5 separate regions of the Homo sapiens genome follow, and all the other regions are linked to region 4. The links are contacts of gene promoters, found by promoter capture Hi-C in blood cells and fetal thymus (Javierre and others, 2016). All regions are on one chromosome and are shown on one strand. The core of a region is centred on a gene start or on the middle of the fragment in contact, and the rest is flanking DNA. Distances in the headings are between cores, read along the strand shown. Region 1 overlaps CD247 (CD247 molecule). Region 2 overlaps POU2F1 (POU class 2 homeobox 1). Region 3 overlaps POU2F1 (POU class 2 homeobox 1). Region 4 holds the start of GPA33-AS1 (GPA33 antisense RNA 1). Region 5 overlaps CD247 (CD247 molecule).

Region 1 (5,157 bases), core at 2,379-4,878, 440 kb before region 4:
CCTTGGAGAGTTTGCGGTTCTAGCTCTGTAACCCAGGACTGACTCTCAGCCCAGTGCTTTTTCTGTTGTGCCAGGATGCATCCTCATCCTATATCTTATTTTAACTCATACTGTTTCCAAATCAAATACCAACAACATTTACAACCTTTACTTTCTTATTTATTTAATGCTCCCCCTGAAAGTAGTAATTTGCCACTAAGAAAGCCTCCCCTGCCCTAGAATACTAAAGAAAACGAGAACTAAGCGAAAGAGGACCTGTAGTCAGCGATTTCACTGTATCCTATTTAAAATGAAATGGACTTTATTTTCTGCTTTGAGAACCTAAAACACCACACTTTAAAAGATGATATTTATCATATCTTACAAGGTCAAAGCATACTTATTGGGGAAAACTTGGAAAAGGTAGAAAAGAACAAAGAGAAAATAAAAATCATTTTAAAAAATGTTACCCCCAAGACTGATTAGTATGTTGGTGACTGTCCTTCTAGGCTTGGATATGTGCATTTTATTTCGTAACTGTTCTTTTTACTTAGCAATAAATCATGGTCATCTCTCCCTGTCATGAACTATGTCTCTACATCAACTTTAGTGCCTGTAAAATGCCGTAATTTATTTTACCACTGTCTTTTGTCAGACATTTAGATGGCTTCATGTTTGGACGCATTATGAATAGTGTCACTGTGGACATTCCTGTGCATACATCTGTGCTCACATTTGTGGCTATTTCTTTGGAATGCACTCCTGGCAGTAGGGTTGCTAGGTCTCCCCTCACTGTCAGTGTCCCCGCTCTCCGGGGCCTGCTTTTTTCATCACCCGCCTCCCCGTAAAGATTCCTAAGTTCCAGGGCTATCTCCTTCTGATGGAGATCTCCTGGGTGATGTGGTACACGTCACCCACACCCCTGCCACCAGCCTGCTGTCCAACAGATGGAGCTGATAACCATTTAGGAACAATCCTTAAACTTCTAACCGACTCAGTCCCTGATTAGACTTCTTGTCTTGCCTTATCCCTGGTTATGTCCCTTCTCCCTCCCAACCCTTACCCACTTCTCAGCCCCATGCAGGAGGCCCAGTTTGTCAGCTGGCCTTGCTAATTTCTCTCTTGGCCCAGCCAGAGATCGTCTAGGTTCCTTCTTCCTACTCTCTGCCCGCTCTGTAGAGTCAGACTCTCCACGGGATGGAGATCTTCAAGGCCAGAGAGATGCAAAACCTCCTTGCTTCAGGATCCGGAGACAAGCTGCTGCTTTTAAGCAGATCCCCTCTCAGGCAGGTTCAAGTACTGACCCAAAGAGCAGGGGGGTTGCAGGGCTCTAGTGATTCTTGTGTGACCCCAGCAGACTCAAGCTGTTGCAGCAGTCAGACATTTGGTGATACCTACAAAATCATCTAGTCCAACCTCTCTTCCAACAGAACTCACACTCGATAGCTTCTTTGATGAATGGAAATCCAGACTTCTGGGAACACTACTGTGATGAGCAACTCACTACCTGCCTACCTACCTACCTTCCTTCCTTCTGCTTTATTTCACAATTCTTGCCATACAAAATGAACAAACACACAAACACCACTACTAATGCTATTCATTCATTTATTTATTCAACCAATATTTATTATTTACTATGTAGCAGGAACAGTCTAGGTGCTTTTGAAACAATCATGAACAAACTGAACCACAGCAGCAACAAAATCCCAGATCCCATATAGAACTAACAATTAAAGACGGAGACAGGCAATAAACGAGGTAAACTGAAAAATATGTAGATAGTTGTGATACATGCTGAGAAGAAAAATAACACAGAGAAGGTGCATAGGAAGTGTCAGGCTGGTGGTGTGGGGATACAGTTTTGGGTAGGGTATGCAGGGATGTCCTTGCTAAGATGGTGGCATTCTAGTCAAACCCAGAAGGAAGTGAGCGAGCAAGCCAAGTGGGAACCTGGAGAAGACGGAGGTGGCAGTGCAGACTGGCATGTTCCTGGAACTGCAAAGAGGTGGTATGAGTGAGGGGAAGGCCAGTAGGAGGTGAGGTCAGACGTATTGAGTTCTGGGGGTTTGGGGAGAGAGTGACAGTTGCAAACAAGCTTGAAGGACATTTTGCTCTAAGTGAGATGGAGGTCAAGGACTTGGAGCAGAAAAGATACATGATTATATGTTTTGGCAGGATCATTCTAGCAGCTGGGCAAGGAACATGCTGAGGGGGAATAAGGGCAGAAGTAGGCATTACTTAGTGATGTTTGTTCAAGAAACATCTGTTGCGCTCCTATATGCCAAGCACTGCGTAGGTGATAAGGATTAAACGGGAGCACACTCTTCTTCCCTCTGGTAGGTTACTGTAACAACTACTCCCACCTCTGTCATTTATGAGTATTTACCCAGTCCCAAGCTCTGGGGTGAGCACACCCGTCCATTATTGCATTTATTCCTCTCAGCAAACTGTAAGGTAACAACCTCAGGATATCCTCATTTTACAGTTGAAGAAACTGAGGCTTAGAGAGGTTATGTAACATATCGTAGACCACATAGATACTAGGTAGACAGCCAAGATTTAAACCCAGGACTGTCTCACTCCAAAGCCTGCAATACTAACCACAATGCTGTTGCTGGAAACTTTTTCTTACGCTGGACTTTGAAAGTTCACCTAAGACAGCATGAGAAGTGATGGTATCTTCCAGGCAGCCACCTGGGCCACCAGCCCTCCCCTCCTTGGGATCTGCCTTCCCACTTTGTCTGAATTGAGGGTCCAACACTGCTCCTCGGACACAAGGTCCAGGTGGGGAGAGAACAGAGTCCAGCCCAGCCAAGGCAAGTCACCTGGGCTCTCTGGAACCCGGACTGCTTTGCTGTAGAGTAAAGTCCTGGAATAGGTCTCTAACCCTCTTTCCAGCTCTGAAATCCAAGGCGTATGTGATCTGAGGTAATAATTGTCTTGCCTCTCATGCTTGGTTTTTGATGAGACCTTCACATTCTTTAATAAACATTTATCTGTATCCAGGAATTATAGGAGATACAAAATGCCGAGGAATGCACTACTCATGATCTTTTTTGATCCTTTTAACAATCCAGAGACATGGGCTGTGTAAAGCCACAGTGCAAAATACAATTAGGAAAACACAGCAATAAGACCACTGTAGCTTTGAATGGTGCTGTTCACTAATTATTACCTCCCCACCCATTTTCTCATCTGACCCTCACAGCAGCCCCATGAGGTCGACAGGGTGAGGACATTATCCCCATATCACAGATGGGAAAACTGCAGCCCAGGGAGCTATGCGATTTCTCCCGAGGTCCTCCTCACACTAGTGTAGTGGAGCCGCTATGTTTATTGACCCCAAATCCAAGTCAACCCAACAGTCTCTAGAACGTTCCAATTACCTGGCCAGTCCTCACTTAGATAACATCGGACTCTTTCAGAAAAGATTAAACAAATCCTCTATTTGTTGACAGAGGTTTTGCTGAACTGGCCCTGGGGATCCGAATTGATCATGGCCATCAACACAGGCAGCAAAGACCCTTCAGAAGTGTTTTATTCACTAGCCACCTCCATCCCCCAACCCTCCATCGTCTAAAGTGTCTCCTGACTCAGTTCTGTCCCCCTGCTTGTCCTCTTCTCCTATTAGCTCTGGGTACCCAGTCCAGATCATAGCCCCAAGCTCTGTCATCATTTTGCAGCCTCCAGCCTCCCCCACCCAACTCAGCAGAGCCCTGAGAAGAAAGTCCTGGGTCCCGGAGGCTGCACCTGCAGACACAACAGATTCTGCAATGGTGAGAGCATATAGGGTATTTTGGGTCTCCAGTGGGGTTTTTGCTGATTCTGTGCCTGACCAGGGCACATGCTTCCTGGAATTAATAATTCTAGATAAAGAAGCCTAGCAGATGCCCACCTATGGAAAATGCTTCTTAAACAAGAAGAATCTCAGAATTAGGAGGCCAGCTTCTTGTTCTCAGCACTGCCCCTAACTAGCTGTGGGGCCTCGGACACGTCACTTGATGCCTCTGGTCCTGTTTTCTTCTGTACATTATGGAGGATTTGGACAGAGATGATCAGTAAGGTCCCTTCTAGCCAGACTGTCAAGGTTCAAATCCTAGCTCTGCCACATTCCAGCTGTGTGATCTTGGACAAGTTACTTTATCTTTCCTAAGCCTCAGTATCCCCAACTATAAAATGGGCACAATAGCACCTATCTCATATGGCTGTTGTGAGGACCCAAAGATACAATGAATGTCAGCCCTCAGCACAGGGCCTGGCACAGAGACAGTACTCAGCTAAGTAACTGTTTCTAAGTTGTTTATGATTTGAAGCTAAGGATAGAGATGCTTATTCTGAGAAGCAGAAAGGAACAGATGGAGAAGGAAAAAGGAAGATGGGACAAAAGGAGAAAAACTGGCCAGGTGCGGTGGCTCACACCTGTAATCCTAGCACTTTGGGAGGCCGAGGCTGGCGGATTGCCTGAAGTCAGGAGTTCGAGACCAGCCTGGGTAATATGGTGAAGCCCTGTCTCTACTAAAAATGCAAAACTTAGCTGGGCATAGTGGTGGACACCTGTAATCCCAACTACTCAGGAGGCTGAGGCAGGAGAATAGCTTGAACCCAGGAGGTGGCAGTTGCAGTGAGCCGAGATCGCACCACTGCACTCCAGCCTGGGCGACAGAGTGACACTCCATCTCAAAAAAAAAAAAAAAAAAAAAAAGGAGAAAAATTAGGGAAAATAGGGCAAAATTGGGGGTGGAGAAAGGCAGGAAAAATTTGAGGGCAGCAACTGCAATAACTTCAACAGAAAAGTAGAACAATAAGCATACAGCCCCAAAATACTCAGCCCCTTTCCTGCCTCCCCTTCCTCTCTGCCCCTAGCAGACGCCATGATAGCTCCTGGAATGATGCCTTTTATAACTGTGGGGCATGTTCCTCCAGGCTGACACCTTCTGGGGGGGCCCCTGAACACAGCATGGGCTCAGCCTTCCTCCCACACACCTACCCTGGTAGGCATCCCTTTGAGATGGATCTGAGTGGTTTCCCACCTCCTTCTAGGGGTGAACTGTCAGTTCAAGAAGGAGGTTTAGGGGGATGGGATGTCCCCTACCTGGGGCTAATGGGGGCTTGGGAGGTGGCTTACGAATCGAAGCCGAAGACAGCAGCCTACGTGACCAGAAAGGAAAATTCCCC
Region 2 (5,164 bases), core at 636-3,135, 370 kb before region 4:
GCCGAAATCCAGCCTGGGTAACAGAAGGAGACCCTATCTCAAAATATATATATATATATATAATTTTTTTATAACATGTCTAAAGAGGCAAAAAGAAAAGCTGGCAGTGGGCAGTGAGCTATGGTGCTAGAGCTAAACTGAGGTGTGGGCCACATCAGGCTACGTGCAAGGTAACCACACAGACAGCAAGCTGGGGGAGAACTGAGATATGCTCACAGAAGCAGGGCTGAGAAACCAGTTTCTGAGAGAGCAAAGCCCTGAATCCGAGGGGAGAGCGGCTAGCCCTGGAACTGCCAGGGTTCCTGTCTTTCCTGAGGTCTGGCAATGCCTTCTCCACAGCACAACTGCACTCCCTCCATCCTAAGACACTGTTGGTTACTGATGTATCAACTTATTTCAAGGGCAAAAACACTAAATATCCATTGTAAGATGTAGATCTGTTTCATGGGTTAAAATGTGAAGATATGCTTAGAATCAAGGAAACATGGAATTTTACTTGTATTGAGGAAACACATTATATATAAAGATGGAAGCTTTCAATATTTTTCAAACGTTTATTCAAATGTCACTAAACTCAGAGATAAGATATGAATATTTCTGATCGCTTTTCTTCTTAGAGTATAATTTGAGGTCATTCTTGGAATAAGATCCAAGGTTTCTAGTTTAAAATGTTCCTATAAGCAGAGAAATACTCAAAACTGCAAAGCCTGGCTTGGCAGAGAAAAAATGGCAGATGACCTACTTAGGCTAAGAGGACAACTTCCGGGGTGATTTAAAGCCTTGTCATTTGGCCAACTGTTTAGCCACAGGCCTCAAACTGTCCATGAATAACTTGTGATGTGTTTTGGTTGCTTGGTGCTGGACATTTCAGTTGTTGATCAACAACTACTTTTGTGAACCCATGACTGAGTCCTAACACCGGATTTCCTGTTAACTTCAACCTGGGTCTTTGGAGAGATGTAAGTCCCTCCAAAAACAAAAGAGTAAGGGCATATATTATTCACATCCTGCCATAGGTAATTCAGCTTTGTATACAAACCTGGAAATGGGTTAGAATTTAACAACTTTTTCACAAAGGACTACAGGGTAACAGAATCTCATCAGTTGTTTATCCTCATTCCTTAGGATATGACAAACGAGTTTTGCTTGCTAAGTCTGTGAGCACGACACTATCTCAAAAACAGGATTTCTGTTAAAAACTTGACATTATTTTAAGAAAATAACTACAAACTGAGACATAAGCCATATATCTAAGGAATGGAATGGAAAAATATAAATTCTATGATAAAGGAGCAGGGAGAAAGGGACCCACCATTTGCCTTCCCATTTTGGTCCCTTTCCAGGAGAGCGAGCACATCTTGCGACAACGGCTCTCCACATCATCTAATTCAAGAATGCCTGCCAGATGGCCAGCACGTGATAGACAACTTCCCCAGGTTCTTCAGTAAGCTGAAGCCTTCTCTCTGTGGGGAATTCATTTTAAAATTCAAACTTTACTTTTCATGAAATGAATGAATTGTAGTAAGACACTAAATGCTAAGTGGTATTTATAAGTCTGAAGAAGCTAAGTTGTGCAGCCTCGAACAGGAGGAGGACCAGATGCCAAGTTCAGGGTTACCTTCCTTCGGAGGACCCCCCACCCGGCCCCCACCCAGTGAATGTTCAGGACTTGGCAAGAAATGCTAGAGGGGCAGTGCAGTTTAAACAATACATTTGGAAAAAGTTGAGTTCGGTCCCAGTTCTGCAGTCAAATACACAGTGAGATGGAGCTTTGAAGAGCTCCCTTGCAGGATCAATCATGGGCCTGCGTGTTTGATCACACAAAGTACTTGGGCCTGAGGGAGACTACTGCTACTCAGGGTCCCACGAAACCACACTGAGGGTCTGGGAGGGAGAAATGCAGTGGCCATAGCTCCTCCTGGAGTGCAGGAGGAAGGGTGGAGTGGGGCAGGAACCAGGGTGCTTATGGTGATTCTGGGGTTCCTGAGAGCACTTGGAAAAAACAATTTGGAAGCTGAATTATGCGAAGTCTGAGAATCTGTATGTGAAGCATCCAGAATACCAACACAGCAATTTCAAAGAAACTCCAACAATGTGAAAACACTTGGAAGATGGTTTAATGATGTTTTACAACAGAAATGAACTGTACAGTTACAGTAAGTTTAATATATATATAAAAAATTACAGCAGACAAATGCATCTACACAAAATCTACCACTTCATTCTGATTCACTGTCACCTACACAATCTTTCCCAAGCCTACAGCCCCTGCAGGCAGCCCTAGGAGGGGGAATCATCTAAAGGGCACTTTTGAGAGAGACAGCACCGCTCATATTCCCCGCCACCTCCTCAGGCTTCAGGAGGCATCAGCTAATTCCCCAAAATGTAAAGTTGCCTGTGTTTCAGGTTTTCAAAACCAAGAAAACGTGTGTCTCCCAGGGGCACAGATAACAAGGTCCAGCACGCAAGTTATCAGCTGATTCTTAGAAAATATTCCTATCAGAGGGGAAATATTTGGCTAACAGGCACTCTGGGGCAGTAAGGCTACACAATAGCCACCCAGAGTGCAGAGTTATCTAAGAGAAATGTAGAAGGACTCCCAATAAACCACCTCAGAATTGTCACTGCCTCATTCAAGCTGCTGGACAATTTTGGAAAGAATCATTTACACCACATCTTAAGTTTCCACAAAGAAGAACTCAAACTCACATTTTAAAGTACATAAAACAAAAAGTTCTAGGAGGCCGGGGGCCAATTCCCCTTGTGCCCCTCCTTTGACAACAGTGGACAAACACCCCTGAATTAATAATTAAGACAAAAAAGGAAGAAAAAAAAAGTGAGTTAAGATATTGAAAGAGAGAAAGAAAACATCTTTAGAAAAACACGATCACTGTCTCTTTAAAAGAAAACAAAATCCCAGTTGGGAACAGTAATGAGGAATATGCAATCTAAATTGACACCTGGTGGGAGATTATTATTGAATATTATGTACACTCAGAACTTTTTTCATTTTCTTTTTTATTATGAACACCTAGGCAGTGAAAACTGTTATGTTAATACATACATAGACACACCCAAAACATACAAAAATACTATTATTTCAAACTACTAAGAATAGGACAGTTCAATTATTTTCATGCTATGACTTTAAGAGCATTACACTGAAACAAACAAGAAGTTAAACGACATTTTTTTTTTAATATCCCAGAAATATACCAAAATATACATCTAAGCTTTGGAATTACTGAGGTTAGACTAATGCAAGTGCTGGGTAATCGTACTTAATACACGAGTCTAAGGTTCTGCAGGAAAGAAATTATCTTTGGTATCTGCATCAGGCTAATATTATTAACATTTGGATTTTGCTTTGGGATAGAGCTTGTGTGACCCAAGAACCAAGTACCCCCCTCCCCCAACCAACTGAGATTAAAAAGATCCATGTAAAAAGTTCCTTCATTTGCAATCCCCCCACCCCCCAAGTTAAAAAGTCACAGGCATCTACCTAGCACAAAAGGTTGTGAAGTACAATGCATAGTTGCACAGTGGTGCTGCAAAAAGGAAAGAAAACTACAATAAAGAGAAATGAAAAGCTTGATAATCTTTCTGCATGTTTTCTCACAAACAGGACAGCCACTTCCAAGCAGTTCCAGTACAGGAAAAGAAAAAAAGGCTCAGAAGGGCACCGTGGCGTGCATTCGCCCAGCCCCAGAGGTTAAAGCACCCAGCAGAGCAGCCAATCGTGCGCCAGTGTCTTCAACGTCCCCCACTCTGTGGAGTCCTCGGGCCAGTCCAGCAGCAGCTCCCACCCTCCCTAGGCCCTGTGCTAAGTCCCCATAGTGACCCTGGTTGGTGTAGGGTGGATGATGGTGGTGATGGGGTTTTTTGACTTTTGTTTTGGAAAATCTGAAATGCCAATTTGTTTCAGGGCATGCTCACAAGTTTGTGAGGGCCAAAGCTAGGGGCATGCACCTGTGCTGGACCCTGGAAGGTGGTAAGCAGCTTGCCTGCCCTTTCTGATCCAGTCAGAGGGTCCCCCCGCCCCACCTTCCCTGGCCTCACTCTTCTAAGTGCCAGGACACCACAGACTGGACTGATGCTGAAGACTTCCCTTTTCTTTGGTTCTTTTGTTTGTTTTGAGTTTATACAATCATTAAGAAATCTTTGGTTTTGGCTGGAAATTTGAAAAACAAAACAAAACAAAACAAAACAAAGAAACCACCCTCCCCTGGCTTATAGCAGCAGTATCATGACCTGGCTAAGCTTTTTGTCAGCATTAGGGGTGGGAATTGAAGGTTGGGAACTACATTCAAAGAAAAGGTGAAAGGGCTGGGGATGCAGCTTCTAGAGAGCCCATTGGATATAAGATTGTCAAATAATAATAATAATAATAATAAACTTAAATATTTGGATATTTTTGGTCATGTCAAAGGAAAAAAAGTGAAATGTGTATGCAGCAGTCAGCTTAAAGGAGCCTTTGGTGTCTTCCCTTCTACCCAAAGTCCTGAAAAGAAACAGAACCCTGAGGCCTCAGAGGAGAAGGGGTTGGCCTCTACCCCACCAAGGAAAAGGCAAGTACAGAAGTTGACGTGTGGCCAGCTGTCAGAAACACAGGGTGGGTTAGGGGTGTGGATAGCTGGCCAGCCCCTAAAGGCAGGGTGGCAGGGAAAGCAGATGTTAAGAGACCTGTGAAGACCCCTTGCAACAAAAAGGAATAGAAGATTGCAATTTGCCCTCAGTTTGCAGTAGCTTTTAAGCAGCGACATTCAGAGGCTTTAGGGGGTCCCACCCTAGGCTACAGGTCCCATGATGCTATAGGCCAGAGTTTAACATGACTGAGGAGGGAGGGCAGACTTGGCAACTCTGTAGGATTTCGAGAAAGTTAAAGCAAGTCACTCGGTCACGAGTTAGAAATGAGGTATACAACAGCTCCTGGACTTCTGGTGGGTAGAACAGCCCACGCTTACTCACCTAGCCTTCACTACTACCACAGATGAGGGGATGGAAGTACAGACTTATGCGGGAGGAGAGCGTTTCCTGCGGAGTGAGACCTCCTGCGGACTGAGCAATGCACACGTGCCCATGCACGCAGAGGTAAGAAGCTGGAAGTCTTTCTTTCCCCGACCTGACCTTAGGGAAGATACAACATTTATGTTGTCAAAAGCCA
Region 3 (5,508 bases), core at 965-3,464, 330 kb before region 4:
TTTTGAGATAAATTCTCAAGGGCTTTTCTGGTAACTAGATAAACAATTTCATGGTTTTTGATACATATCATAACGTTGGTTCCCACTATGCAACACTCTTCCACATGACTTACGTTAGCAGTTTTAAAAAATGTTTTGCTAATTCAAGAAGTAAATGGTAGTTCCCTGCTGCTTTAATTTGTATTTCTCTTACTACTCAATGTCAAAATTTTCCCATGTGTCAATTATTATCTGTATTTCTTTGAATGTGAATTGGATTTACGTCCTTAACCAATTTATATATTAATGATATTTATTCTCATCCTTATCCTTAGAGAGATCCTCAAATTTTATAAAGGAAGCTTTGTCATATTAATGCAAATGCTTTTCCAATTTGCTTTCTTCCTTTTATTTTTCAGGGTACATAAACCTTTAAATTGTCATTTGGGTGAGCTTTTAATTTTCCTTTCTAATATATCCTGTTACTTCAAATCTGAGAAAGCTTCACTTATTTCTAACATTGATAAAATTCCTTTTAATCTGCTAGCTTCTTCTTTGTTGAATATTTGATTATTTAAATCCATGTATAGTTTATTTTGGGACATGAGGGTATAGTCTCTTTTTAAAAATAAAATACTCTACTTTCTTATCACACAAACTTAAGGTTATTCTGTTCTATTCACAAGCCCTGAGTGGAACACACCTCACTAGTGGGAGGCACTGCCTGACTGCATCTTAGTTGCTCAGTTGACTCCTCCTGTGAAGAGTAGCCCAGGTGAGCGATTATAAACCAGAATTACAGATAAAGTCTGTGGCTGTGAATTTTTCTTCTTCAAATTTAGATGAGTTATATAAGCCTGACCTTTACCTTATGAGTCAAGGCTTCCTCCAAAGGAACTAACTGTCCCAGAAAACTACAGAATAAGCATTACACAGGCGACAACTGGAGTTAAGTTCCTCTCTTATCCTGTTTCAATGACAATAACAAAGTTCATTTCTATGTCATGCTGACACTGCGTAATTTTCAACCTGACCATTTTGGAGGAGCCAAAACGAGCACCAACCATAGCAGACCCCTATGTAGCTGTACATTTCTCACAGCGAAACTGGTTGACAGTTACAGGTGAGTCTTAACTATCACATTGTTACTTCATCTCCGGGCCTGAAGTAGCCCCATTCTCAAATAATAAAGGACTAAAAATCGCTTGGGTACCTTTAGATGGGGTGGTTACAGATAAGTTACCCCAGCTCCAGAAACCTCAGGCTGGACTGGGCCAGATCTAGAAATGGCAGAGTAGAATTCAGTGAGCAGGAGTCAGGATGAAGCCACAACGGCCCTGCCACCATATGCAGAGAACGGAGGCCAGGAAGAAGTCTCTGGTATAGGCTTTTTTCAAAATCCCAACCTCACTCTTGCATTCAGCATATTCACAAATTCACCATTTAAAAGGGCAAAGTATATGTTTCAGCAACTACAGTCATACAACTGCTACTAATTGCAGTAGCAGTTACTACAGATAGTAGTAGATACAGAACATTCTCATCACTCCCAAAAGTTCCCTTGTTCCCTTTGCAGTTAATCCCCACCATTAGCCCCCCGTCCCTGGCAACCACTAATATGTTTTATGTACCTTAGTTTTGTCTTTTCTAAAATGCCATGTGCATTGAATCATACTGTATGCAGTCTTTTATGTCTTCTTTCATGTAGTATAATGCTTTTGAGATTCACAGGAGATGCATGTATCAGAAGCACGTTTCTTTTTACTGCAAAGTAGCATTCCATCATATGGATATGCTAAAGCTTATGTTACCTAGTCACCAGCTGATGTATATTTAGGTTGTTTCCAGTTTGAGGTGAATAAAGCTGCTAGAAACATTCACATACAAGTCTTTGTGTGGACGTATGCTTTCATTTCTAGGGACAGAACTGCTGGGTCACAAGGTACATGCACATTTAATTTTATAAGAAACTGCCAGCCTGGTGCGGTGGCTCACGCCTGTCATCTCAACACTTTGGGAGGCCAAGACACGCAGATTGCTTGAGCCCAGGGGTTCAAGACCAGCCTAGGCAACATGGCGAAACCCCATCTCTACAAAAAATAGCTGGGCATGGTGATGCACGCCTGTAGTCCCAGCTACTCAGGAGGCTGATGCGGGAGGATTGCTTGAGCTTGGGAGGTCAGGCTGCTAGAGTGGGCTGTGATTGTGCCACTGCACTCCAGCCTGGGTGACAGAGCAAGACCTTGCCTCCCCCTCACCCCCCCAAAAAGAAACTGCCAAAATAATTTCCAAAGTGTGTATACCATTTTGCAACACCACTAAGCAATGTATGAGAACTCTAGTCGCTTTACCTTCTTGCCAACACTTGGTTTTGTCATAGCCTTTTAAATTTTGCTTATTCTAGTGACTGTGTAGTGATATTTCATTTAAATTTTCCTGATCACTAACGGTTTTTGAGCATCTTTTCATATGCCTGCTGGACATTTACATATCATCTTTGGTGACGTATCTCCAATTTTTTTGCTGCCCATTCCTTTAAATCAGATTGTCTTATTATTAACTTGAATGAGTTCTTTAGACATTCTGAACACAAATGTTTTATCAGATATGTTTCATAAATATTTTCTCCCCATCTGTGGTTTTCTTTTCATTCACTTGAGAGAAGCTTTTGATTTTTATGAAATTAAATTTATCCATTATTTTATGGTGCTTTTTGTGTCCTATTTAAGAAATCCTTGCCTAACCCAAGGACACAAAGATTTTTTTCCAAGCTTTTTTCTCTAAGTTTAGGTCTATGACCCATCAAACAAATCTTTGTACATGGTGTGAAATAATAGTCAAGGTTTTTTATTTTTTTTCCCTATTGTTTCAGCTGCATTTTTTGAATGACTTTTTTTTTCCCATTGAAATCCTTTGGCACCTTTGGCAAATCAGTTGGCCATATACATGTGGATCTACTGGACCTTCTATTCTGTTCCACTGATCTCTATTTCTATCCATATGCCAGTATTACACTGTCTTCATTACTTGAGTTTTATAATTATTCTTGACATCAGTAGTCCTTCAATTTTCTTCTCAAAATCGTTTGGTTATTCTGTGTTTTCTACAGTTCTATATAAATGTTAGAAACAGTATGCAAATTTCTACAAAAAAGCCTGCTAGGTATTGGTTGAGACTGTTGAATCTAGAGGTCAATTTGGGAAAAACTGACATTTTAACATTTAACTTAAGTCTTCTGATTCATGAACATATTACTTCTTTCTATTTTATAGGTCTTTAATTTTATGCAGCAATGTTCTATAGTTTTCAACTATAGAACTATTTGTATAGGCCTTACAAATATTTTGTTGTTTACCCCTAAGTACTGTAAATTTCTTTTTCTTAATTTCAATTTCCAAATGCTCACTGCTAGTGTATAGAAATGTAAATGATTTTTATATATTGAGTTTGTATCATACTTGCTAAGCTCACTTATTCCAGTAGCTTTTTTTGGTAGATTCCTTAAGATTTTCTACATAGACAATCATGTCATCTAGCAACTAAGATAGTTTTACTTCTTCCTTTCTAATCTGTATGTCATTTATTAATATTTTATTTTATTGTCTTATTGCATTACTGGCACCTTGAGTATAATGTGGAATAAAAGTGGCAACTGGTCACTTTGCCTTGTTTCTGATCTTAGGGGGAAAGTATTCAGTTTTTCGTGAAGTATGATGTTGGTTTTTTTCTTTTCTTTTTTTTTTCTTAATACATGCTCTTTACCAGGTTAAGAAAGTTACCTTCTATATCTAGTTTGCAAGAGTTCTTATCATAAATGGATGCTGAATTCTGTCAAATCTGGTAATGTGTTAGTATTAAGTGATAACTTCCATACTGCAGACAAAGAAAGTCAGAGCTGGAAGGAGATTCAGGATCAGCCAGTTCAGTCACCTAATTTATAGATGAGAAGACTGAGGTCCAGAGAGATAAAATGACATGTTCAAAGCAACAGCTAGATAAGAAGTGGAATCAGGTCTATAATTTAAACCTTTATATGTCTAAATTTTTTTAATATAATTATAGTGTTTATATGGTCTAGTAGAAATGAGCTAAAGCACCATAAAAGCATTGAGAAAAAAGAAAATATAGAGATCAAAATCTCTTAGCAGTTTCTGAGAAAGGGTAAAGGGTAACAATGGATTTTTAACTGAGGCTCACTAGGTTTCCAGTTTAAGTGGTAATATCTACCGCCAAGTATGGTGAGGGGAGATGTCACATAGCTAGAACTCATTACTCATTTACTGCTAATGCAGTTATTCTTTAAGAACATATAAGAAACAGGAACTCTGAAGATTTTCAAAGACTATATTGATTTGGTAGCATTGAGCTGATAAGCCTAGCTTTGATTTTCTGGTCAGTTTTCGAAGACCGAATTATTTTTATTAGATTTAAAAAAAAAATTAAATAAAGTCCAAAAGTCTCCCCAAACAATATGATAAGAGAAAGCAGCCCCCATAGAAGAAAACTGACCTGGGAGGTGAGGGTGATGCTTGGCTGCGACTGTAGGAGGTTGGCTTGGCTTTGCTGAGGTAGTTGCGTTAGAAGATTTTGCGCTTGCAGGAGACCTGTAGAAGAAAAACATGTTATCCAGAAACATTAAAGATTTCTTCGAACACATGGCAAAAGAAAGAAAGAATCAGAAAATGAGCTGAAAATTTCCAGTTGATCTCTGGTAGTCTTACTGGTATCAAAACTCTTATTTATCTTATTTGCCTTACATTCAATCTTGTTTTACAACTTGGAAGAGAAGATATACAACATTAAATTAAAACTGATATGTCTTTGGCATAATCTGAATAAGCTCTGTGATAGGTCAATCCTTTATTTTAGGAAAGAATGGGATGAAAGTTAAAAAACTATTCTAAATAGAAACAGCTGGAAATTCCAAAAAGAGCTCAACTTCTTAACCTAGAATCCATTAGAAACTGCCAGCGTATGTTGGACCAGAGGAAAAGAAGCATTTTCAAGTTCTCTTTATCAAACATTTGCCTGTTGGTGATAATAAAGTTGAAATGTAAAATATTCTATTAATATCTGCATGAACACTGAACTGTCTTAGTTTCAAATAATTGATAATGTAATGCCACCAATGCTTCATGATGACAAACTGACATTCAAAGTAGAAATACAAACTCTTTGTTTGTAGAAGATGCTCAATTACTTGAATACATGGCTTTTTATTTTCAGAAACTGATAGACAGGACCAACCCAGAATGTCTGTATTTAAGGATTTAATCTTAAATACAGAGTAAAGAGTTTAAGTAAAGAGTTTCAGATAAAATGCTGTTGCTAAAATACTAAATACAAGATTATGTTTGCTGTGATAAGAGCAATGGTAGAAAGTATTCGACAAAGCACACCAAACAAAAGGGATTTTACCATTTTCTTTTGAATATGTGATAAGATTATCTGAGGCAATAGCTTCCTAATTATGATTTCATTAGGTTACTAAATTTGGATATATTAAATGTTGTAATATGTAGGACAACA
Region 4 (5,164 bases), core at 2,135-4,634:
GGTGTCAAACCCAGGGTGCCTGACTGAATTCTGAGCACTTCACATTGTGGGCCCTGCCTGGTTTAAGCGTCCTGCAGCCCTGGAGGTGGACATGGGGCTCCGGCCTGAAGAAGCTCAGTGGCAGAGGTTGTGCTTCCCAAGGAGTCCAGACCTCCCATTCCTGGCTGTCTCCACTCCACTGTAGTGCCTCTCTTCACCCTGACTCTTCTTCCCCTGCAGCCTCAGGTCAGCCTGTCTCCCTGAAGAATATCTCCACAGACACATCGGGTTACTACATCTGTACCTCCAGCAATGAGGAGGGGACGCAGTTCTGCAACATCACGGTGGCCGTCAGATCTCGTAAGAGCAGCCTGCGGGGGGAGGGCTGACAAACGCCACAGGATAACTGGTGGGGGTCCAGAAAGTCAGCTGAGACCACCGTGAGGAGGAATAGGGGAACCTCTCTAGGGCCACGCACCTGCAGGTTAGCTGTGGTGACCTAGGCAGGATGACTCTGTCCCAGGCTCCCCTCACTCTGAGGCCAGTCCAGTTCCACTGGTGTTTGGAAGTGGAACCTAGGACTGACTTCTAGGACTCAGAGGCTTTGTCAGTCCCACCTGCCTAGGAACCACTCGGTGGGCGTGGAGGAAGTGCCCAGGGCAGCTGCCGCAGAGTCTGGACCACATCCTTCTGGGGTGAGACACCAAATCTAGCTTAAAGAGCTGGCTGGGCTGACATCTGAGGACTTTTGCAGAGCCAGGGTAGCCCGGAAAGTGTTAAGATGTGAAGTGGACCATATGTCTCTGTCTGCACCTCCATCCTGAAGAATATTCCTGGGCCATGGCTGGTCACATTCCTCCAAGACCATGCCTTTCATGGAGTGTTACCAGAAGCTGGTAGCTGCTGCTCCCCTGGCTGGGAGGAGACCCGGAGCTAGCTTAGAAGCTCGGCAAGTGCAGCTGCTCTGTCCTCTTGCAGCCTCCATGAACGTGGCCCTGTATGTGGGCATCGCGGTGGGCGTGGTTGCAGCCCTCATTATCATTGGCATCATCATCTACTGCTGCTGCTGCCGAGGGAAGGACGACAACACTGAAGACAAGGAGGATGCAAGGCCGTGAGTGTCTGGGCTGGTAGCCTGTTGGAAGGGTCTGGGGAGACTGGAAATATGCTTCCCAATTCCTCACAGCCTCTTCTACTTGCAGCACCCCTTGGGGTATATCACCCCCATTTTGTGCTGATGAAACAATGACCTGTCCAAGCCATAAAATGTGCATTGCAGCCCCAGGACCTGCCTCCCAGTCCTGTGGTTTTCCAGTCTGGGAGCTCAGGGCCGGGCTTCCTGTGGCATGACTAGAGCCAAGTGTGGCCTGGAGCCCCTGTCACGGGGCCAGTTCCTCCTGGGCTGGTAAAGCCAGCCTGTTCCTGTAACCCCCTCAGCTCATGCGTGGAACAAGTCTGTGGCACCTTTACTCTCAGCCCAGCCTTTCAGCCCAGTGTCCTCTGCAGCTGGTGGGTGGGGAGGAGGTCTGGAGGCTGCTCTTCCTGTAATGCACATGAGGCCCAGCTCCCTTGAGGGTCCACCTGAGAGCAAATCCTTCCCCTCTGTCCCCTGCTGCCCTGCAGGAACCGGGAAGCCTATGAGGAGCCACCAGAGCAGCTAAGAGAACTTTCCAGAGAGAGGGAGGAGGAGGATGACTACAGGCAAGAAGAGCAGAGGAGCACTGGGCGTGAATCCCCGGACCACCTCGACCAGTGACAGGCCAGCAGCAGAGGGCGGCGGAGGAAGGGTTAGGGGTTCATTCTCCCGCTTCCTGGCCTCCCTTCTCCTTTCTAAGCCCTGTTCTCCTGTCCCTCCATCCCAGACATTGATGGGGACATTTCTTCCCCAGTGTCAGCTGTGGGGAACATGGCTGGCCTGGTAAGGGGGTCCCTGTGCTGATCCTGCTGACCTCACTGTCCTGTGAAGTAACCCCTCCTGGCTGTGACACCTGGTGCGGGCCTGGCCCTCACTCAAGACCAGGCTGCAGCCTCCACTTCCCTCGTAGTTGGCAGGAGCTCCTGGAAGCACAGCGCTGAGCATGGGGCGCTCCCACTCAGAACTCTCCAGGGAGGCGATGCCAGCCTTGGGGGGTGGGGGCTGTCCTGCTCACCTGTGTGCCCAGCACCTGGAGGGGCACCAGGTGGAGGGTTTGCACTCCACACATCTTTCTTGAATGAATGAAAGAATAAGTGAGTATGCTTGGGCCCTGCATTGGCCTGGCCTCCAGCTCCCACTCCCTTTCCAACCTCACTTCCCGTAGCTGCCAGTATGTTCCAAACCCTCCTGGGAAGGCCACCTCCCACTCCTGCTGCACAGGCCCTGGGGAGCTTTTGCCCACACACTTTCCATCTCTGCCTGTCAATATCGTACCTGTCCCTCCAGGCCCATCTCAAATCACAAGGATTTCTCTAACCCTATCCTAATTGTCCACATACGTGGAAACAATCCTGTTACTCTGTCCCACGTCCAATCATGGGCCACAAGGCACAGTCTTCTGAGCGAGTGCTCTCACTGTATTAGAGCGCCAGCTCCTTGGGGCAGGGCCTGGGCCTCATGGCTTTTGCTTTCCCTGAAGCCCTAGTAGCTGGCGCCCATCCTAGTGGGCACTTAAGCTTAATTGGGGAAACTGCTTTGATTGGTTGTGCCTTCCCTTCTCTGGTCTCCTTGAGATGATCGTAGACACAGGGATGATTCCCACCCAAACCCACGTATTCATTCAGTGAGTTAAACACGAATTGATTTAAAGTGAACACACACAAGGGAGCTTGCTTGCAGATGGTCTGAGTTCTTGTGTCCTGGTAATTCCTCTCCAGGCCAGAATAATTGGCATGTCTCCTCAACCCACATGGGGTTCCTGGTTGTTCCTGCATCCCGATACCTCAGCCCTGGCCCTGCCCAGCCCATTTGGGCTCTGGTTTTCTGGTGGGGCTGTCCTGCTGCCCTCCCACAGCCTCCTTCTGTTTGTCGAGCATTTCTTCTACTCTTGAGAGCTCAGGCAGCGTTAGGGCTGCTTAGGTCTCATGGACCAGTGGCTGGTCTCACCCAACTGCAGTTTACTATTGCTATCTTTTCTGGATGATCAGAAAAATAATTCCATAAATCTATTGTCTACTTGCGATTTTTTAAAAAATGTATATTTTTATATATATTGTTAAATCCTTTGCTTCATTCCAAATGCTTTCAGTAATAATAAAATTGTGGGTGGAAATTCTTATTTCTTTTTTAATGTGGATTTTGTTTGCAGTAAGATAAAGCTTGGGTCTCATGGATCATCTCTACTCACCATAGCACTCTTCTGCTTCCTAGGGGAGGTGAGACAAGGTAACAGATTTGAGAATCCTGGGGTCCCTCTGCTTGTGGCCGCAGTAGGGTCAGGCAGTGCCTCTAGTGGTTGCTGGGAATAGGACAGATTCCTGCCTGCTGGTGGAGGTATATTCCAGGAGTCTGCAGTGTCAGGACACCAGGAGGCCTGGGTGTCGGTCCACGTGCTTGAAGGAAGATGGTGGAGATGCTCTAGCCAGTTCTGCTTCCTATGATGCCCCTTCTGAGAAAGGGGCGGGGCAGTCCTCTTGTTCTGTCACAGAGAACTGTGACGCTTCCTCCTCCAAGGCAACTTCGCTCCGCTGTGGGCTCTTGGCTTTGACATGGACTCTCCTGCGAGATATTCAAGGTCTGTTCTTCAGTGTCCTTTCCTGTGCTCCCTCCTGTCCGAGCACTTGTCACACAGTACTGTGTGCCTATTATACCTGTGTACAGGTCTGTCTCTGCCTCACCCTGTATGATTTGTAAGGATAGGAACTGTAGCTTCTTTATGGCCTGGCATGTGTTGACCCTTGACAAAGGTTTGTTAAATGAATAACATTTGGTATCACAGTATCTTGCCCAAGGACATCTCCTAGCTCTCTAGATACTCTGAGGTGCCTTCCAGTCCTCACGGTGCAAGGTTCCACAAGCATGTTCTTGAGGGAGCCACGGAAGCAGAGGCGGCCACCTTCCCCCAGGTTTGACTTGACTTCTCTCTGCCCCTCAAAGGACTCTGAAGGTTCACCTGCCTTAGCTCCAGGCTTAGGGAAGAAAAGGAGGGAAATCGAGACCCACTGCATTAATTCAACAACAAATATTTTGTGAGCATCTACTACGTGCCAAGCAGTGTGCTGTTTGCAGAGTATATAAAAGTCACTAAGAAACTGTTATTCAGGAGGAGCTAAAATCTAATGGCGGTCACAGACATAGAAACATAATTACATGAGCAAGAGAAGGGGCTACAGGACACAGGAGGGCCTGAGTAACTCAGCCTAAGGGAGTTCAGGAAAGCTTCAGAGAGGAGGTTGCATTTGGGCTGCATCTTGAAGAAGAATGAGGAGTTTTACAAGTGGAAAAGGGCTGGTGCTGACATTTCTTCTGTCCTCCAATGCATGTTTCTATTACTTGGGTGTCAAATCATATTATCACTCAGTAAGACTACAGTTTCCTGCTGAATTTATTTCGGTCCACAGACTCTGGGAATTGGACTGTTGTAGGTTCTTATACAATCAAAATTAGCCCAGCAATGCAGTCTCCTTAGAATGTTAGGCATCCCTTCCCAAATTATGGTTTCCAGCTGCTGGTTCAAAGACTTTATGGTGTTTTAGAAGAGAGACAAATGCTACCCATTAATTGAGGGAAGATTGTGTACTATAAACCCTTATTAGGCACTTCAGACAGTTTTCCATATAATCCCCACTCGCAGTTTCAAATACTTGGGCATATGCCAATGTTAGGTGTTCATGTTATCACCTAAGGAGGGACTCTGGCTGCCCAGAGAGGAATCCATGAACTGATACACAGCTTGGTAAATTAGCCACTCTTCAGGATCTTGTTATTTATTTATTTATTTATTTTTAATTTTACTTTAAGTTCTGGGATACACGTGCAGGACGTGCAGGTTTGTTACATATGTATACATGTGCCATGGTGCACCTATCTACCCGTCATCTAGGTTTTAAGCCCCACATGCATTACATATTTGTCCTAATGCTCTCCCTCCCAAAAAGTCTTGTTCTTAAGCTGCTTTTGTGACACAGTGACAGGGCCTCAGCTCTCAAATGCAGAGTCACATTAACCAAGCTCACAGTGCCTGATGTACAATGCTTATAGCAGCAGCAC
Region 5 (5,495 bases), core at 1,386-3,885, 410 kb before region 4:
TTCCCTGGCAATTGCTGTCAGGAGTGTGTGCATGTGCCTGGCCATGCATCATCTGAACACTCAAATTAGCAGAGGAAAAAGATAGTGAGTTAATATCACCCAGCTGACTGCTCAAAGAACTGCTTTAACTGTAGCCAGAGAAATATGGAGGGGGCATGGCCAGTCATCAATGACCTCCAAATGACTAGATGCTCAGAAGTGTCTGGCAGCCTAGGCTAGATAAATAATTCCTGCTGCTGTGAAATAAATAAATTCCCCCAAATAATTCAGGGAAACCAATTCTTTCACTGCCCAGTTGCTGAGCTACAAGAAACTAGAGCAACACTACAGGTGAAGAAGAAAGAAAGGGGCTGGGTGCGGTGGCTCACGCCTGTAATACCAGAACTTTTGGAGGCCTAGGCAGATGGATCACCTGAGGTCAGGAGTTCAAGACCAGCCTGGCCAACATGGTGAAACCCCGTCTCTACTAAAAATACAAAAAAAATTAGCCAGGCATGATGCCGGGAGCCTGTAATCCAGCTACTCGGGAGGCTGAGGCAGGAGAATCGCTTGAACCTGGGAGGTGGAGGTTGCAGTGAGCTGAGATCACCACTGCACTCCAGCAGCCTGGGCAACTGAACGGGACTCCATCTCAAAAAAAAAAAAAAAAAAGAAAAAGAAAAAAAAAAGGAAGGTGGAAGGCATCTATGAGTGACTTTCTATCTCACTGATCTCCAGTTTATAAGGGACTGGCCACTGGAGGCAGGTTGGCCTAGCAGGGTGGTGGGGAGGGGGCTGGCGCCTTCTCCAACAACTCTGTGTATGAGGCTTGTAAACACATGATTCTCTGTCTGGATAGGTCTCTGAAGGAGAAGAAAGGAGGTGGGGAAGGAAGGAAAGAAATAAATATATGGACAGGAAGATTGAGTATTGGAGGGAGAAGAGAAAAAGCAAGAGATAGTGAAACCAATAAAAAGGAAATAAACGTAAAATGGAGACAGAGGGGAAGAAAGAGCTGGAATAATACTATGTGGCTCTCTAAAAGTTGCTGCAGTTTTTTTTTGTTGTTATTTGTTTTTTGTTTTTGTTTTTGTTTTTTACAGAGCACACACTGCAGATAAATAGTGCGATCTTGGGGCCTTTTCGGTAACTGTACTTCTATTCTTCTTTCCCTTTGCTTTTGTCTAATTAAAAGTGTCTGCCTTTAAAACAGAGACAATTGAAGTTTCAAGTTAGTGTTGTCATCTTCTGTCCCCAGGCATTTCAGAGCTAGAAAAACTACAGGCAAAATTCTCTGTAGATCCTTTTTGTACCCCTCTTCTTCTACTCACCCTGTTTCCCCAGCTTTCTACTTTTAGAATAGGAGTGGGGGCTGAGAAAGATAAAAATAGCTTTTGAGAATTCAAGTTATTTGGGCCCCTGTTTTGGGAGCCAGCATCCTTGTCCAAAGCAGAAAGCAGCCAGTCCTGAGTTTGAGGGAAGCTTCTCCCCATGGAGTTTCCTTAGGGGACTATTTCTGAGCCGTTCTTGGAGGAAGCAACCCCTAGAGATGTTCAGAACTGGAACTAAACCCATCTTCCCCTGAAGAAAAACAGGTTTTTAGGAACCCATCACTCAGCAGGGAGCCCTCTGTGTTTGGAGCCAAGTGTTTGGGGAAACAAATAAGCTGCCTTCAATCAGCCTGAGTTGGAAACGCAGGAAAACCGCATCTTCATGCTGGACTCCACTGCAATCCCAAGGTGATTTTAGTTCAAGGAGAGTGGCATCTGCTTGGGGGAAATTAGAAACTTCTTATTTCCATTTATAAATTAGGCTTTACTAAGGAAGAGAACTTAAAAACAGTTTTATTGTTGTCCACTGAAAAGACAATTACTTCCAGCCACAACTGGCACATTCCATGGTAAAACTAGCGCAATCAAACACACAACACTTTCCACCGTAGGGGCTTCTTTTTGAGGCTGTCATTAAAGGCATGTGTCTTATTAGCCAGTGTCAGGATTTCTGGGATGTTTTATTGTCTCGAGTAATGAGAAGGCCATTTCCAGGGCTGTGTGCTTTTTAAGTCAGCAAACAAAACATTAAAAACAAACAAACCTCCTTTTCTTTGTCACCATTTCTCTGACCATCCCCTGTAAATTCGTAGGACACGGTACTCACAGAAAAAGGAAAATTCATTAGCCAAATGAATCGCTGATTTAAATTCAGGCAATAGGTTGACATTATCCTTAATTGAATAGTTTTAGAAAATGAATCTATGTAGATCCAGATCAAATTCTAACCAATCATTACAATGGGGTCTTTTTTCTTGAATGTTCAAAGTTGATTTTCCTCCACAAAATAATAACTCTTTGGTGTCCAAGTAATAAATTAGCACAGTTCAGTTCAAGTTCCCACTAAATTGGAGGCTGAAATGTAGGATCAAGAGAAAGGAGATGCAAGTTACAAACCTAGATTCTAAATATCCCAGCAGACTAACTCCATGAAACCATCTTTTATTTTTTGTGAATAAGTGTATGTGTGTTAGCCTCCCTCTCCCTTTCTCCTTTTAAAAAAAGAAATGATGACTTTTTCAGGTCTCTGCTTCCAGATATGAGGGGCTTTAGGTATTTGAAGTCAGAAGGGAGGCAGGAATGAGCACTGCTAATTGGGTGCATCCTGGTGTGCTAATATAAAGGACAGCCAATGTAATCGTGGGTTTCTGAGTTTGCTGTCTGTACCTGGCCTGCCTGGAGACTAAGAAAGGCTTGCTGGCCCCAGGCCATAGGTCACATTGCAGCCTTGACTGTAATTCCCTGGACAATTCCTGCACCAGAACAGATAGTGTGACCTCCTATGCTAACCAGCCGAGAGCAACCCATGCTCAGTGGCAACGCAGAAAAGCCACAAACAGAACCCAGGAAGGGTTCCTGGGATGGCCCGGCGACTGCCCATCCTCCAGAGAGAGCTGGATCAAGCAAAAGAAGCAGTCCCCAAATTCTTAGGGCCAGGGATGCCAGGTAACCTGGCACCCAAGGCTATCTGAGGAGACAGGCAATGAGGCTATCAAGAGTAAAGATGGAAGAGCAAGCACAGATGATGGAGAAAAAAATAAGGCTGGTGGGAGGGAATTAAGGAGGGAAATGCAAGGAAGAGACAACTGAGAGGAAAACCAGAGGGAAGGAGTGTATCAGTCTGAAGACAGGATGACACAGGAGAAGGGGAGGATGAGGGCCGGAAGGGCTTCAGGCCTGCAGGGAGGGAGGGCAGACTTTTCCAGGGGGTGGGAGAATTGCCCTGGCCCCCTTTTACTGGTCCCATTCTTTGGACATTGTAGAGAGAACTCAGGTGGGGGAAATGGCCCAGCGGCGGGAACCCTGGCACACCTCTCCCAGCAGGGATCGGCCCCCAAAAGGAACAGTTCTCCTCCTTTTCTGGCTTAGACCAGGGCAGGCCCCCTGTGCAGCTCTCTCCCTTGGGTTCTCGTGTATGTAGATACACTTGTTTACACACACAGGCTCCTACACAGGCACATGCAGAGACGCCTAGGTCCCCAACCTGGGTTGTGACTTCTGTGTCGAGGAGAGCCATAGGAGGCACAGCTTTGCCAGAGTTCCTGCCCATTGCTGCGGCCTGTTCCCTAAACCACACTGGTCTGGCTTCATCGCTGGACTCACTGTGTGGCCCACAGAGGCCTCTTCTATGGTCACAGGGCCCCAGTGACATTTTGGGAGGGGCTTCAGGGACGCTGGCTGGTAACCCAAGAGCAACCCTAAATCCCAACTTGGTCCATGTCCTAGAATATCAAAGGAGAATCTTAAACCCTGAGTGGGATGAGGAGCCTCCTAAGCTTGAAGAGAGCCAGGTGGGGAGAGGGCCTGGGCTCCATGCAGGTTGGGCATCAGTTAGCCTGTGACAGTGGCCAAGTCCCATGAGACTTACACCATGCTAAATATTCAGCTTTCCTCCTGTGGGCATCCTATACTCTGTGAATTGGTCAGAACCAATCTTTAATCCAGCATCCTATCAGGCACACCTCCCTCCTGCTGCTGTGTGCCTGAAGAATGCAGAGTGATTTAGATATTCATTGACCTAAAGTGCAACTAAGGTTTGAGGGTGGGGGACACAAAAGGGAGGTTAATACAAGGCATCAAAAATGTACTTTGACTATTTTCTCCTTTTTTTTTTGAGCCTGTCGCCCAGGCTGGAGTGCAGTGGCGTGATCTCGGCTCACTGCAACCTCTGCCTCCCAGGTTCAAGCGATTCTCCTGCCTCAGCCTCCTGAGTAGCTGGGACTACAGGCGCCCACCACCACAGCCGGCTAATTTTTGTATTTCTGGTAAAGATGGGGTTTCACCATATTGGCCAGGGTGGTCTCGAACTCCTGATCTTGTGATCCGCCCGCCTGGGCCTCCTAAAGTGCTGGGATTACAGGCGTGAGCCACCACGCCCGGCCGACTATTTTCTCTTATTTCAAAATTACATATTCTTATACACTATGGAACTTGGAAAATAAGGGAAAGCATAAAGAAAATTTAAATCACCCATAATTTCACAAACCAGAGATGAAACCACTGCTAACAGTTGCTGTAATTTCTTCCAGTCTCTTTTCTACAGTGAGATCTGTATTTCTAGCTGGCTACACATAGTATAAATCTAGGTTTAGAATCAAGTAGAAATAGCTCTAGAGTGCTGCCGATGCTGCCATTGGCTCTGATAGTGGATCTCATTTATCCCTGGGTCCAGGTGAGAGGTCCTGAGGACCCAAATCATGGGACAACAGAGAGAAAAAGAGAAGAGGTGACATGCCTAGGGGCGGCCCGGCTGAGTTTGGAAGCCGCAAGGTGAACTCCCTCCCATGGGAGAAAGCTGCCATGGGAGGCGGCAGCCCAGCAGTCTGCCTCTCAGCCCACGATCGCCCACGTCCCCAGCATGTCCCCAGCGTGGCAGCTGCAGGCACGGCAGGCTTTGTGGGGCCTTTGATCCACGCAAAGTACGTCATAGGCGAATGCTCACAGCGCGTGGGCTGGGCACACCAAGGGTTGCCAAACTGACAAACACACCTCCAGGAAAGCCTTTTGGCTCTGGCTGGGCTTCATTCTGGCTGCCTGGACAGCATGGCCTGAATAGGAAACTTGCAAATGTGTGTGCCCTGTCCCCCTGGTGTCTCCCAGCCCAGACTCAGGAGTAACTCAGAGATAACTCCCCGAGAGTTGAACAATGAGAACACATGGACACAGGGCGGGGAACATCACACACCAGGGCCTGTCGGGGGGTCAGGGGGCTGGAGGAGGGATAGCATTAGGAGAATATCTAATGTAAATGACGACTTGATAGGTGCAGCAAACCAACATGGCACATGTATACCTATGTAACAAACCTGCACGTTGTTCACATCTAGAACTTAAAGTATAATTTTTAAAAAAAGAAGAAATAACTCGCCGAGGCCGTGGGAGTAGTTAGTAGTGGGGCATGGGGCCAGCTGAGAAGCTGGCTCTCCTTTCTGCACATTTTGGCACACAGGGCAGATTTTTCTGAAG

The links. The method cuts DNA at HindIII sites, captures the fragments that hold promoters and counts their contacts. A CHiCAGO score of 5 or more calls a contact.
Region 1: a contact is called between a fragment that was not itself captured here and the fragment with the promoter of GPA33-AS1 in region 4, in 1 of 17 cell types (neutrophils). The highest score is 5.1, in neutrophils.
Region 2: a fragment that was not itself captured here is called in contact with the fragment with the promoter of GPA33-AS1 in region 4 in 1 of 17 cell types (fetal thymus); the score reaches 6.2 in fetal thymus.
Region 3: a fragment that was not itself captured here is called in contact with the fragment with the promoter of GPA33-AS1 in region 4 in 3 of 17 cell types (naive CD4 T cells, naive B cells and total CD8 T cells); the score reaches 5.7 in naive CD4 T cells.
Region 5: a fragment that was not itself captured here is called in contact with the fragment with the promoter of GPA33-AS1 in region 4 in 1 of 17 cell types (neutrophils); the score reaches 8.2 in neutrophils.

The regions. Positions count from the first base shown.
Region 1 is chr1:167,492,565-167,497,721 of GRCh38, reverse strand. The region is part of intron 1 of CD247 (CD247 molecule); the gene reads left to right. Among named protein-coding and RNA genes, the nearest start is that of CD247, 23 kb to the left of the region's middle. The HindIII fragment of the contact is 3,098 bases long and covers 2,080-5,157 here.
Region 2 is chr1:167,424,272-167,429,435 of GRCh38, reverse strand. It overlaps POU2F1 (POU class 2 homeobox 1), which reads right to left. Exons shown (of 16, transcript NM_002697.4): 16 at 2,096-5,164. Among named protein-coding and RNA genes, the nearest start is that of CD247, 92 kb to the left of the region's middle. RefSeq lists enhancers at 3,246-4,216, 4,217-5,164. The HindIII fragment of the contact is 2,700 bases long and covers 536-3,235 here.
Region 3 is chr1:167,382,932-167,388,439 of GRCh38, reverse strand. POU2F1 (POU class 2 homeobox 1) reads right to left here. Exons shown (of 16, transcript NM_002697.4): 8 at 4,489-4,583. Among named protein-coding and RNA genes, the nearest start is that of CD247, 130 kb to the left of the region's middle. The HindIII fragment of the contact is 864 bases long and covers 1,783-2,646 here.
Region 4 is chr1:167,050,905-167,056,068 of GRCh38, reverse strand. GPA33-AS1 (GPA33 antisense RNA 1) reads right to left here and starts at 3,384. Exons shown (of 6, transcript XR_922249.3): 1 at 3,303-3,384. GPA33 (glycoprotein A33) reads left to right here. Exons shown (of 7, transcript NM_005814.3): 5 at 220-339; 6 at 958-1,093; 7 at 1,603-3,233. The coding sequence ends at 1,735. The HindIII fragment of the contact is 1,060 bases long and covers 3,276-4,335 here.
Region 5 is chr1:167,460,484-167,465,978 of GRCh38, reverse strand. All of the region lies in intron 1 of CD247 (CD247 molecule), which reads left to right. All of the region lies in intron 3 of LOC101928512 (a long non-coding RNA gene), which reads right to left. Among named protein-coding and RNA genes, the nearest start is that of CD247, 55 kb to the left of the region's middle. The HindIII fragment of the contact is 2,344 bases long and covers 1,464-3,807 here.